Regions from separate parts of the Homo sapiens genome. Here all the other regions are linked to region 1. Evidence: promoter capture Hi-C in human tissues and cell types (Jung and others, 2019). All regions are on one chromosome and are shown on one strand. Each heading gives the region's core, a stretch centred on a gene start or on the middle of the fragment in contact. The rest is flanking DNA. Distances are from core to core; before and after follow the strand shown.

Region 1 (3,010 bases), core at 1-2,500:
TGTAGCAGCGGCTGAAGGCGCCCTGTGGGGAGGGGTCAGCAGATCAGTGGGCAGGTGTGCACGGGTGTGCAAGCTGGCAGCGCGTACAGAGGCACAGGGCAGCCAGGGACGCAGGCGCGTCCAGGTCTCTCCACACACACACCGGGGAAAAAACAACACACAGCTCCCACCCTCCCGCCTGGACACACAAGACATGATGCACACAAGAAGGCACAGAGACACAGACACAGACACATCCACGCCTGGTGCATAGAGGCCACGGACCAGAAGACAGCACCGGATGCACAACACCACGCCTGAATACGACACACAAACACGCAACGCCCAGACACAGAGTCACCATGCATGGACACACAACACAACACCCAGATACACAACGCAGCAACACACAAACACATGAATATACAATGTCTGGACACACAGTCACCACGTGTGGACACACAACACAATACCCAGACACAGCACAGGAACACACAAACACATGAACACACAACACCTGGACACACAGTACAACACATGGACAAAGACACAGATACAAACACATGAACACACAACTCCTAGACACACCACATATGAACACACAAACACACAAGCACACCACATGAACACACAACACCCAGACACACAACACAATGACTGGACACACAAAGGCATGACGCACAAACAACAGGTGAACAAGCAACACAACACCCAGACACACACACACACACACACACACACACACACGAACACCGCACAGCACCCAGACACTTGGAAGCAGCGGGCACAGACGCGGCACACTCAGACCCTCGCCAGGCTCGCACACACACCCAGGGGCAACACAGCGTCGCATCCCGAGGCCGAGCCGCACGCCCACACCCCGGACACGCAACCCACGGACACGACGCACAGCGCGCTCAACACGGTTCCCGCCATGCGAAACCCCGCACGGGAGGCCCCGCGGCTCCGGACGCGCGCCCGCTCCAGACCCCGCGCTCGCAGGGACGCGCCGCGTAGACCGCGCAGGATCGCCCGCGCGCCCCGGGACCCCAGCCCAGCCCGGTCCGGCCCCGTCGCGGACTCGGGGCGCGGGCCTCCCACCTTGCCGATCAGCTTCCCGCGCCTGTACACGCGGCCCGAGCCCGGGTCTCGCAGGAAGGCGGCGACCAGGGGGCGACTCCTGCGCCGCCGCCGCGGCCGGGGCTCCATCGCGCGGACTCTGGCGCAGCCGGGCCGAGACCACCGCGCTGCGGCCGCTCCGGGGCCGCTCTGAGGGCGCAGGAGCCGCCGGGGAGCGTTTTATTGGCCGCGGGGGCGGGGAGGGGGCGGAGCCCGGGCGCAGGTCCAGCCCGGGGAGGGGCGGGAGGTGCCCGGCCGTGGAGTGGGGGGCGCGTGAGCGGCGGGGACGCCGCGGCTGGGGAAGTTCCACGGACCAGAGCGCGCCCGAGTCCCGCACGCCAACCGGGCGCCAGGGGCCGCGCTCAGCCCGCGAGCTCCTCCGACCCTGCACACCCGGGCTGGCTGGGAACCGCTGATACGCCCGCTTTACCGAGCGGGAAACTGAGGCTCTCTCGCGCGTGGGGGGTTGGGGGCTTCCGGGGGCTTCTCCCCCACAGTGCGCTTGAGGTATGAGCCTCGACGTTCTGAATGTGTGCCATTTCGGGTCCTCCCTGCTGGCGGGTCCCTGGGGCCCACATGAAAACCTGGGGCTTGATGGCCCTGGGCACTGGGGAGCCACAGCAGAATTCGGAGCGGCAGAGAAGCCCAGCGTTTGTGATGCTGGGGCTGGTGGGGAGGGCGGTGAGGCCTGGGACAGGGACCCAGGAGGCAGGACCGGGGCTTGGGGACGCATGGGCTGGGGTCCTACAGTGTAGTGGATGTCCCATATGAGGGAGCTTCAGCCCGGAGAAGGGATGGGCTGTGTGGAGCAGCAGGTGGACCCTGGCTGGGGTTTGCACGGACAGCCAGGTGGGGACGTCCTTGAAATGGCGACCTCAGAGAGCATCAGAAACCTCAGAGAACTCAGAGAACAGCTGGGTGGGAAGACAGTGGGGGGCTTGAGACTCCCCCGGAATCGTGGGGGTGGTTGCTCCAAGCCCTGCCCCAGACTCAGGTGCACCCCTTTCCTGGTGAGGTCTTCCCTCACCCTTCCACCCAGCCTGGGACACAAAAACGGGCCTTGTCCCCATTGTACAGGCAAGACATTGAGACCCAGGGACGCAAAGTCGCTCAGTCAGCCCAGGAAAGGGCAGCGCTGGGTTTGAATCCCGGCAGCCGCCCCTGGACGCCTGCGGTATTAATCCCCAAATGTTACATAACACCAGGAATGGGGAGGGGTTACCAGGCTCCGTGGGGCTGGAATTTTCCAGGGACCAGATTTCGGAATCTGGCCCGGCCACACCACTAGGGACAGGAAACACCTTCTGAGCCGTCACGTGTCCACCTGGTGTCACGAATGGGGCCCCCGTGCATTGGACGGGGCTGAGCTCGGGCACCTTTGCGGGGTTTCTGGTCCCAGGGCCAGGGCGGAAGATTCCTGGCCAGCCTGGGGCCACCGGGTTGCAGCTGGGGAGCCCAAGTCCCCTGCTGATGAGAATCAGGTGAGGTGGCTGCAAGGTGGGCTGCTCGGGGCCCGAGTGTCTGAGCTGTCACACGACTGTCACCCTGGAATCCTCCAGGGGCAGAAAGCCAGTTCCTTGCTTTTTTTTTTGTTTGTTTGTTTTTTTGAAAGAGAGTCTTGCTCTGTCACCCGGGCTGGAGTGCCGTGGTGTGATCTTGGCTCACTGCAACCTCCATCTCCCGAGTTCAAGCAATTCTCCTGCCTCAGCCTCCCAAGTAGCTGGGACTACAGGTATGCACCACCACACCCAGCTGATGTATTTATTTATTTGTATTTTTAGTAGAGACGGGTTTCACCATGTTGGTCAGGCTGGTCTCAAACTCCTGACCTCAAATGACCCGCCTGCCTCGGCCTCCCAAAATGCTGGGATGACAGGCGTGAGCCACCAGGCCTGGCTTCCGGTTCCTTCCT
Region 2 (3,074 bases), core at 295-2,794, 210 kb before region 1:
GTCCTCAGCTGGGAGCACCTGTGCCCAGCTCTGCACCCCCAAACCCTTTGTTGAATGAATGGACAGATGACAATCGTGGCACCTGGACACTGCTGTACGACCCCCCATATCTAGGTCCCAGTCTCTTTCTGTACCCCAGACCCTCCCCACAAATGCACGAGACCATCTGAGCTGCAGAAATTCTGGGAGGACTTCCTGGGGGAGGTGACCCCATCGGAACCTGGAAATGGTTTTCCTTCCACCACCGCCGCCCCCACCTTGAATCTCAGCCCAGCTGAACTTGAAAGGCTGAGCGGGCGAGGGTGGGGGGAGCGTCTCATCCGCCTGGAGGGGAGAAAACCGAGCTCATTAGGGGAGGGGATCAAACGCGAAGCTCCGGGCTGGGTGCGGGAGGAGGCGCTGACAAGAGGGAATAGTTTATCGAGGCGGCTCGCTCTCTTCCAAGGCCAGCACCTCGTCAGATATCGAGCATGCTTGTCGATGCTGCCAACCGTAAGTGGAGGAAAAAAATCGCTTAATGGGCTGCTCCAGGCTCACTCAGGTGGGTGGGTGCCCGGCTGGCCGAGAAAGGACGGTGATACTGGGTCCTTAAAAGGGCCTCCGCCATCCTCCCCCACTCTGCGGGGCTCGAGGGGGCTCGAGGCATCTGCTAATAACCCTTCGGCGCTCGTCCCATCTCCCGGGTTCCTACTGCCTGCGTGTGGCTGGGGGTTGTGGGGGGGTCTCCACTTATTTTAATTTTACAAGCCGAGCCCTAGATGTGGAATCGCTCCACTGAGCTTTTCCTGCACCCGCTGATGCCAGGCCTGGAGCTGGCCATGGAAGGCCCTGTGGTGATGGGAGAGGCTCACAGTGTGAGGGTGGTGGCTGACTTTATTTTTTTAGAGACAGGGTCTTGCTCTGTTACCCAGGCTGGAGTGCAGTGGTGCAATCATAGCTTACTGCAGCCTCGAACTCCTGGGCTCAAGCCATCCTCCCCACTCAGCTCCTGAGTAGCTGGGACTACAGGCTTGCACCGCCATGCTCAGCGAATTTTATATTGCCCGGGCTGGTCTTGAACTCCTGGCCTCAAGTGGTCCTCCACCTTGACCTCCCAAAGTGCTGGGATTACAGGCATGAGCCACTGTGCCCGGCCAGTGGCAGACTTTAAACCATGGCTGACAGCGGGTCTGGGAGCCTGAGTTGAGAAGGGCACCGTTGCCCCGAAAGGCGTAGGAGGTGCAGGAGTTCATTCAGTGAAGAGAAGTAGGAAAAGCAGGCAAAGGCTTGGGGGTTAGGAGAGCATTGAGGTGAGGAGGGGCTGGGTCGGCAGCGTCTGTGGGCCTGGCGGGGAGGTGTCATCATTCCCTTAAGAGTCAGGGGCAGCCAGGCAAGGGGTAGGACTGCATTGTTTTTTTATTTGTTTTGTTTTTTTTGTTTTTTGAGGCAGGGTCTCACTCTGTTGTCCAGGGTGGAGTGTAGTGGTGGAGGGCACCTGTAATCCCAGCTACTAGGGAGGCTGAGACAGGAGAATTGGCTCACTGCAGCCTCGACCTCCTGGGTTCAAGAGATCCTCCTGCCTCGGCCTCCCGAGTAGCTGGGACTACAGGTGCCCTCCACCATGTCCAGCCTGGAGTGGATTTTTTTTTTTTTTTGAGACGGAGTTTCACTGTTGTTACCCAGGCTGGAGTGCAAATGACACGATCTCAGCTCACAGCAACCTCCGCCTCCCAGGTTCAAGCGATTCTCCTGCCTCAGCCTCCTGAGTAGCTGAGATTACAGGCATGAGCCAGCATGCCTGGCTAATTTTGTATTTTTAGTAGAGACGGGGTTTCTCCATGTTGGTCAGGCTGGTCTCGAACTCCTGATCTTAGGTGATCCACCCACCTCGGCCTCCCAAAGTGCTGGGATTACAGGCGTGAGCCACCGTGCCCGGCGGTTATGCTTGTCGATGCTGCCTGTTTTCACTTTATAGAAGAACTGGGCTCTGTAGACACAAGCCACTTTTTCCTACCTGCTCAGAGCTGGTGAGTTTCGGGAACTGGAGGCCAGGAGCAGGGATCACGGGAGAAAAGCCCTGGGTCCCTGGGGAAGTCAGATCAGAGCCATCTGCAGAGGAGCTGGGCTGTGGGAGGGGCGTCCCCTGTCCTGCGAACCTCAGAAAAGCTGAACTACAAAATAGGTATCTGTAATTTTTGTCACATTTGCAATCTGTTTTTGAGCAAGTAATATACATATATACGTGGGAGAAACAAAACTTACATGGAAACAGCAAAAAAATAAATGCCCACCTCAACCCTTCCCGTGCCACCCTGTGCCCTTGGACGTGGAAGCCTTCATTATCTGTCCTAGGGCCTCATGATACACACCATGAAGAGTATCCGTGGCCGGGCACGGTGGCTCACGCCTGTAATCCTTGCACTTTGGGAGGGCCTGGCAGGTGGATCATCTGAGGTCAGGAGTTCAAGACCAGCCTCGCCAACACGGTGAAACCCCATCTCTACTAAAAATACAAAAATTAGCCGGGCGTGGTGGTGGACACCTGTAATCCCAGCTACTCGGGAGGCTGAGACAGGAGAATCGCTTGAACCCAGAAGGCGGAGGTTACAGTGAGCCGAGATCGCGCCACTGCACTCCAGCCTGGGTGACAGAGCAAGACTCTGTCTCAAGGGGAAAAAAAAAAAAAAGTATCTGTATATACTTAGAGACATACTCTGACTTAATGTGACCAGTCTCTACTCACTGTTCAGCATGTAGCTTTTTTTTTTGTTTTTTTTTAAAGACAAATGTCCCTCTGTCACCCAGGCTGGAGTGCAGTGGTGCAATCTCGGCTCACTGCAACCTCCGCCTCTGGGGTTCAAGCGATTCTCCTGCCTCAGACTCCCGAGTAGCTGGGATTACAGGCGCCCGCCACCACGCCCGGCTAATTTTTATATTTTTAGTAGAGACGGGCTTTCACCTTGTTGGCCAGGCTGGTCTGGAGCTCCTGGCCTCAGGTGATCCTCCCACCTTGGCCACCGAAAGTGCTGGGATCACAGGTGTGAGCCACCGCGCCCAGCTTCGGTGGGTAGTTTTTCATCCCTCCCCACTCCTAC
Region 3 (3,303 bases), core at 39-2,538, 240 kb after region 1:
CTCTGACCAACGGGGGCTTCTCCTGTCCCCCACGTTGTGCCTGGCCCGGACCTGGTTCAAAACAAGGGGGCCTGCAGCAGGCGGGTGCGGCATCTCGGCCGGGCGTGGCAGGCAGGGCACTGGGCCACCTGGGTCCTGCCCCCAAGTCCCCCCCTTGCATGACCTTGAGCCAGCTCCTCATCCCCTCTGCACCTCAGTTTCCTGGTCAGCGCCCAGAGGACAAGAGAGGACTCCATCCCACTGCCCCTCCCGGGGCTGACCCCCAGCTCCCCGGCCCCTCAGTCTCCTTTCAAAGCTGGGCCCTTGGCCCCCTGGAGTGAAGCAGATGCTGGGTCCTGAGGGAGGGACACTCCAACTTCCCCAAGTTCATCTGGGGACCTGCGGGCAGGACGAACCCAGAGATCCCTCGAGGGCCACAGTCCCCCACCTCCGGTGCCAAGGTCCCCGGGGATCCCCACCAAATGCGAAACCGAGGGGGCTCCCCAGAGAAGCGGGTGGATCAGGGGTCCCCCCAAGTCCAGGCAGGCAACTCAGGGGCTACCCGGCATCGGAGGGTACCAGAGGGGTTCCCCAAACTCCAGGAGACGTCGGCGCTCTGGGGGATGTGGGGCGCGAGTCCCCACAGTCCGTAGGGCAATGGGGCGCCCCGGGGAAGGCAGGCGCGAAAAGGGCGAGTCCCCCAAACTCCGGGGGGCCGGAGCTCCCTGGGGGGCTCCCGCGGGAACCGGGCGCCCGCATCCCGGCGGCGGCGCGCGCGTGGGGGGCGCCCGGAGCTCCGGGGGCGCGAGGCCGGGCGCGGCTTGGGGGGCGTTGGGGGGTCCCCGGGCGCCCCCCGCGCGCGGCCGCGCTCACCTGGGGTTGCTGCGGTTCCAGTAGACGGCGTAGCGGTCCGAGTTGGCGCGGGCGGCGTCCTCGGCGCGCGCGAAGGGCGGCGGCGGCAGCGGTAACAGCAGGAGCAGCAGCGGGAGCAGCGGGCGCTGCGCGGGCGCCATGGCCCCGGTCCGGCCGCCGCGCTCGCTCTCCCGGCCGCCGCCTGCCAGCCTTCTCCGCCTCCTCCGCCGCCGCCGCCGCCGCCGAGCGGGCGGGCGGAGGGCGGGCGGGAGGAGGGCGCGGCGGCGCTTGGAGATCCCGGGCCGCCCCCGCCTCCGCGCGCGCGACCTCGGGCGCCGAGAAGTCAGGCGGCGGCGGGGCGGGGCGCCGGGGTCGCCCCGGGCGCAGGACCCGGCCGCGCGGACTGTCGGAGCGCGGGCCGCCGCCGCCGCACCCGCCGGGGAGGGGCCCGGGCTCCGGCCTTTGTCCCGCCCGAGCGTCGGGAGGGCCGCGGGCGCCCCCTCCCGCCGTGCCCCGGCCGCGCGGGGACTGGGCGGGGGTCTCCAGCCTGCGCCCGCCCCCTGCCCCGGCCCACCCCGTCTCAGGCTCGTCCCCCGGGGCCTGCCCCCAGCGACCCCGATTCTGCGCGCCCCCCGCCGGCATCCGCGTGGCCCGGCCTGGGGTCTCCGAGGGGCGGGGGCGCACCCTGCCTCCCGCGCCCCCACGCGCTCCACCCGGCCCGGCCCTGGGTCCCGGGCCTCTCACCTGCCCGGTTCCAGCGCTATCCGCAGCCTCACCAACCCCGACGCACGCGTCCCAAATCGGGCTCGGCCAACTCCAGTCTCCCTGCGGGGGCCGGGGCAGAGTTTCAGAGGGGCGCTGGCCAAAGTCCAAAGCTGCTCGGGCTGCGACCTCCCTGGGGCCCTCCTGGGAGTCGCCTCTCCGGACCCACGCTGTTCCCTGGGGATGGAGTAAGTCCCTACACCTCAGCCCTAAGGGTGCCGGGAGCATAGTAGGTGGACCGATGTGGAGTGTGAGCAGCTGGGGATGGGATCCAAGAAGCCCAGAGTGAAGCCCCGGCCGACAGCAAATCAGTCTCCACGCACGAATCCTGCAGGCAGGGGAGGGCCGCTGCCCGGGGGCACAGCTTGTGCAAAGACCCGGGGTCTGATCTGTTCAGGGAACGCCGAGTGATTTCTCCTCCTGGTAGGCTGACACAGGTGGGGAACTGGGGGCCTGGCCTCTGCTTTGTCTTTTTTCCAATCTATAGAGACAGTGTCTGGCCATGTTGGCCACGCTGGTCTTGAACTCCTGGGCTCAGGCGATCTTCCCACCTGGGCTTCCCAAAGTGCTAGGATTACAGGCGTGAGCCACTGCACCTGGCCTGCCCTCTGTTTTTGCCCTTATTCATGCCACAGCCTCCCTCACCAGACTCTGAGCTTGTGGAGGGTAGGCTGTCATCAAACGCTGGCTGGACTTTGCTGGCGATGCCCAGATCGTGTTGTACGTCTCTGAATTAGTGTCATTCACCAGGCCCAGTGCAGGAGAGGGAACTGCAGGGCAAGCACCAACAGCCCTTGGACCCGAAGGTCCCTGTGTGAGGCATTACCCAAACTCCTGGCAGGGACCGTGAACCCAGAGATGGGCAAGCTAACCTGTGCCCCAGCAAGGTGGGGTGGGGACCGGACCCACCACCGTCCCACAGCTCTGAGACGTGGTGGGCTCTGTCCTGTGTCTCCTGCGTGCCCTCCTCCCCCGATTCCCCAGCGGGCCACGCGGGCCACACCACCTGACCTTTGTTCAGGCTGGGTCCTGCTGGGAAGTCCTTCCACTTTTTCTTCCTGTTAAAATCTTGCTCTTCCAGAAAGGTCTGTCCCACCCAGTGCTCTAGCGTCCCTGCCAGGACAAGGTTCTCAGTTCTCTCTCCTCCAGGGAGCTCAGCCCGTCTGTTCTGAGCTCCAGGTCTCATCCCCTGACCCCACTACAGACGTCCCAGGTCGAAGGCCCAGGGCTGGCCGGGTGTCTCTTCAGTGGAGGGCGTGAACCTGTCCCAGGTGGTGGCTGAGGCAGGCCCTCTGGACAGGCTCTCTCAGCACCCCTGGAGTGAGGGCCTTGGGTTCTAGCCACACAAGGCTCTGTAGCCCAGACAGGCTGGAGAAGCTTCCCGGGCGGCTCCGTCTGGTGGGGGGCTCTTTTAGGGAGGGGGACGGCCACTCCCGGAGGTGAGCACTTTCGGAGCAGAGTGTGGCGGCTGCACCCAAGCACAGGACAAGGGGCCGTGAGCCTGGGGTCTTGGCGTGCCCGGCCCCAGCATGCCACCTGGCAAAGGTGGGAGTTCTGGAAGCTTCCTTCTACCCTGGGACCAGAAGCCCCCTCCTGCTTCAAGGGATCTCGTGGGTGAGGAGGGGTGGGCCAGGGTCGGGAGGAGGGGGTCTCTTCTCAAACCAGGACTGGGACCTGCACAGGTGGGAGCTGGAAGGGCACCACCTCCAC
Region 4 (3,274 bases), core at 130-2,629, 170 kb before region 1:
GAGCCTGGGCTCCTCCTGGAAGGCAAGGACCAAAGTCCAGGCCAGCTCCTGTCCCCCATCTCCACATAGGGGTCGGTATGGGGGTGGGAAGTGACCGGGACCAGCAACCCCCCGGCTCTGTGAGGCTCAGGCGGAGAGCAGGACCCCACCAGCTTCCACGTGCTGGTGCCTTCTGAGCCCCCCTCCGTGTATGCATCCTTGGGGGCTCACAAGGGCAGGAACCCCCAGACCTGCCACAGACCAGGGCACTGAGGCTGGAGCAGAGCCCCTGCCTGGGCTCGCCTGTGGCCCCCCAAGACCCCCAGGCCTTGCTCTCCAGGGTCATGGGTGCCAAGGGCCACCAGGCTCTCTACGTTTAGAGCAGCCAAATCTCCAAACCCAGGGTGCCCCTAAGCCCCGCCTGGGGTCTTCCCCACCTCCTGGTGAAGGGTCAGGGCCCCACCCTCCCCTCCCCAGCGGCCGGGGCCAGGCTGAGCATACCCTGGGCTCTGGTTCATTCCGGCATGAGGCCCCATGCCAGGCACATGGCACAGCCCACGCCCCCAGCCCCACTGTCAGGGCCGCCCCGCCCCGGCTCTGTAGAAGGCAGAGCCCCTTGCAGTTCGAAGGAAATTCAAGTCCTGACTCCGAGACAGGCCGGATCGGCCGGGAGGTGACACGGTGATGCTGAGACTCCCTCGGTGGGTGCCACTTGGAGAGGGGGCAACACCCGGACCCCGCCCAGCAAGCCGGCCCCAGGAGGGTGGGAGCGCCAGGGCCTCCCTCCCAGCGGGGGTTCTCACCCCCGAGACAGCCCAGGGTCACAGGACTGGGCTCCCAGCCCCCCATAAAGGCTTCTTAAACAGCCTGCTTGGCCAACTGTCATCTCCATTAATGCATAAAAATCATTAGGCACCGGTCCCGAGACCCCGATCGTAAACCAGCAGGTCCCCGGGGCCCTCACCCGGGCGGCAAATGGCATCCAGGGGAGGCTCCCAGGCCCCCGCGGCGCCCGCCCCGCCCGGCCCTCCACTCGGAGCCTCTTCCGATCGATGTTATGAAGCAGCTTGGGGTTCGTCAATGCTCCCGCTCCCGCTTTATGCCCCTGTTTAAAAATTCTTAATTAAGCAGGTTTTTTCTGTTTACACTTGAACTAATTACACTTTTAAAACCAACAATAAAACATTAGGCCCAGGCTATTAAGAGCTTCGGTGCAGGCCTGCGGCGCGGCCCATGGGGCAATTCAGGAACTGGGTCCTTCCATGGGAGATAGGAGTGCCGGGCGGCGGGCGGGTGCCAGGCGTCCCTTAAGAGGGTCCCCGGGCCTTATCCGCCTTCCTGGAGGGTGGGGAGGGGACAGCAGGCGCCCTGATGAGCCGCGCTTCCGCCCCCCCGGCGGCCGATGGACCTATTGATCGCATGGCCTTATCCACGGTGCATCTTCCGGGGCATCCTCGGAAGACGTGGTCCGTGCCAGGGAGGGCTGAGGGCCAGCCAGAGGGAGAACCGGAGGGCCAGGAGGGTCTGAGGCGGAAGATTTGGGTGCCGGGTCAGCAGATGGTGACTCTGGCCCCTGGACAGTGTCCTGAAGGGCGTTCAGTGGCCTGGCCCCAGAGGTGGGAGCATATTTGGGACTGGGGCGACATGTGCAGGCCCAGGGGGCACCATGGGGTTCCCAACAAAGCCCCCCATCCCTTGATGGGCATCTGAAGCTCTGTCTGAGCTGGACCAAAGCCGGCCTCCCGTCCCACTGCAGAGGCACCTGGGCCGGGTCACTGGTGGTGACTTCAAATGCTCCACGTGCACCACCAGCCGGGGCTCATGGGCTCCTTGGCGTGGAATGTCCTCCACCAACTTCCTTCTCTTCTTATTTCTTGAGACAGGGTCTCGCTCTGTCACCCAGGCTGGAGTGCGGTGGCGCAATCATAGCTGACTGCAGCCTCAACCTCCTGGACTCAAACGATCCTCCCACCTCAGCCTCCAAAGTAGTTGGGACTACAGGTGTGCATCACCACACTCGGCTAATTTTTGAATTTTTTTGTTTGCTTTGTTTTGTTTTTTGAGACGGAGTTTCACTCTTGTTGCCCAGGCTGGAGTGCAATGACACGATCTCGGCTCACTGCAACCTCCATCTGCTGGGTGGAAGCGATTCTCTTGCTTCAGCCTCCCAAGCAGCTGAGATTACAGGCATGAGCTATCAGGCCCAGCTAATTTTGTATCTTTAGTAGAGACAAGGTTTTACCATGTTGGTCAGGCTGGTCTTGAACTCCTGACCTCAGGTGATCCACCAACCTCAACCTCCCAAAGTGCTGGGATTACCGGCATGAGCACCGTGCCGGCCTGAATTTTTGAAATTTTTGTATAAGTTGGCGGGGGTGGGGGGTGGTCTCACTATGTTGCCCAGGCTGATCTCGAACTCCTGAGTTCAAGCAATCCTCGCCTCGGCCTCCCAAAGTGCTGGGATTACAGGCATGAGCCACTGTGTCCGGCCAACCTCCACCAATTTAGGCCTTAGCTGCTTCCGCCCATCCCTCAGTCCAGCTTGGTGGCCGCCCTACAGAGCTTCCCGAAGCTGATGTGAGCCTCTTGAGCTCCTCAGACTCTAAGAATTTTTGAGGCATGGGGCCTTCTAGGCTGTATCCGCAAGTTGCTGTGAGCACTGATACCTCGGGGGCTGCTCTGAAGACAGCCACAGGGTCCCCCAGGGTCCACTGGGGCCTTGGTCTGTCCTCTCTGCATGACCCCATCTCACCCACGGCCCCACCATCCATCCCATCTCCCAGGAGAGTTGCTGCCCTCCTTCGCACCCCACCCCGATGGTTACCTTCTCCAGCATCCTCGAGTCTCACCCAAGTCTCCCTGGAATACGCCCGCTCTGCCATGTTCCAGCAGCCCTCACCTTCTCCCAGCCTCACCTCTGGACTCCACCCTCGAGACCAGGCTCTGCAAACTTTCTTTCTTTCTTTCTTTTTTTTTTTTTTTTTTTGAGATGGAGTCTCACTCTCTCACCCAGGCTGGAGTGCAGTGGCGCGATCTCAGCTCACTGCGAGCTCCGCCTCCCGGGTTCACGCCATTCTCCTGCCTCAGCCTCCCGAGTAGCTGAGACTACAGGCACCCGCCACCTCGCCCGGCTAATTTTTTGTATTTTTAGTAGAGACGGGGTTTCACCATGTTAGCCAGGATGGTCTCGATCTCCTGACCTCGTGATCCGCGCACCTTGGCCTCCCAAAGTGCTGGGATGACAGGCGTCAGCCACCACGCCCGGCCCTCTGCAAACTTTCTATAAGGGACCAGG

The links. The method cuts DNA at HindIII sites, captures the fragments that hold promoters and counts their contacts. A contact is called where the count stands out against the background at its distance.
Region 2: a contact is called between a fragment that was not itself captured here and the fragment with the promoter of PLK5 in region 1, in 2 of the 25 tissues and cell types used here (lymphoblastoid cells and psoas muscle).
Region 3: a contact is called between the fragment with the promoter of EFNA2 here and the fragment with the promoter of PLK5 in region 1, in 5 of the 25 tissues and cell types used here (dorsolateral prefrontal cortex, liver, lymphoblastoid cells and 2 more).
Region 4: a contact is called between a fragment that was not itself captured here and the fragment with the promoter of PLK5 in region 1, in 1 of the 25 tissues and cell types used here (lymphoblastoid cells).

The regions. Positions count from the first base shown.
Region 1 is chr19:1,522,317-1,525,326 of GRCh38, reverse strand. It overlaps PLK5 (polo like kinase 5 (inactive)), which reads right to left and starts at 1,250. Exons shown (of 14, transcript NM_001243079.2): 1 at 1,081-1,250; 2 at 1-22. It overlaps LOC107985337 (a long non-coding RNA gene), which reads right to left. Exons shown (of 3, transcript XR_001753835.2): 3 at 2,850-3,010. The HindIII fragment of the contact is 15,366 bases long and covers 1-3,010 here.
Region 2 is chr19:1,731,848-1,734,921 of GRCh38, reverse strand. No RefSeq gene overlaps it. Among named protein-coding and RNA genes, the nearest start is that of ONECUT3, 20 kb to the left of the region's middle. The HindIII fragment of the contact is 7,385 bases long and covers 1-3,074 here.
Region 3 is chr19:1,283,858-1,287,160 of GRCh38, reverse strand. It overlaps EFNA2 (ephrin A2), which reads right to left and starts at 1,288. Exons shown (of 4, transcript NM_001405.4): 1 at 853-1,288. The coding sequence starts at 992. RefSeq lists enhancers at 1,203-1,703, 1,704-2,204. The HindIII fragment of the contact is 32,397 bases long and covers 1-3,303 here.
Region 4 is chr19:1,696,876-1,700,149 of GRCh38, reverse strand. No RefSeq gene overlaps it. Among named protein-coding and RNA genes, the nearest start is that of TCF3, 46 kb to the right of the region's middle. The HindIII fragment of the contact is 4,391 bases long and covers 1-3,274 here.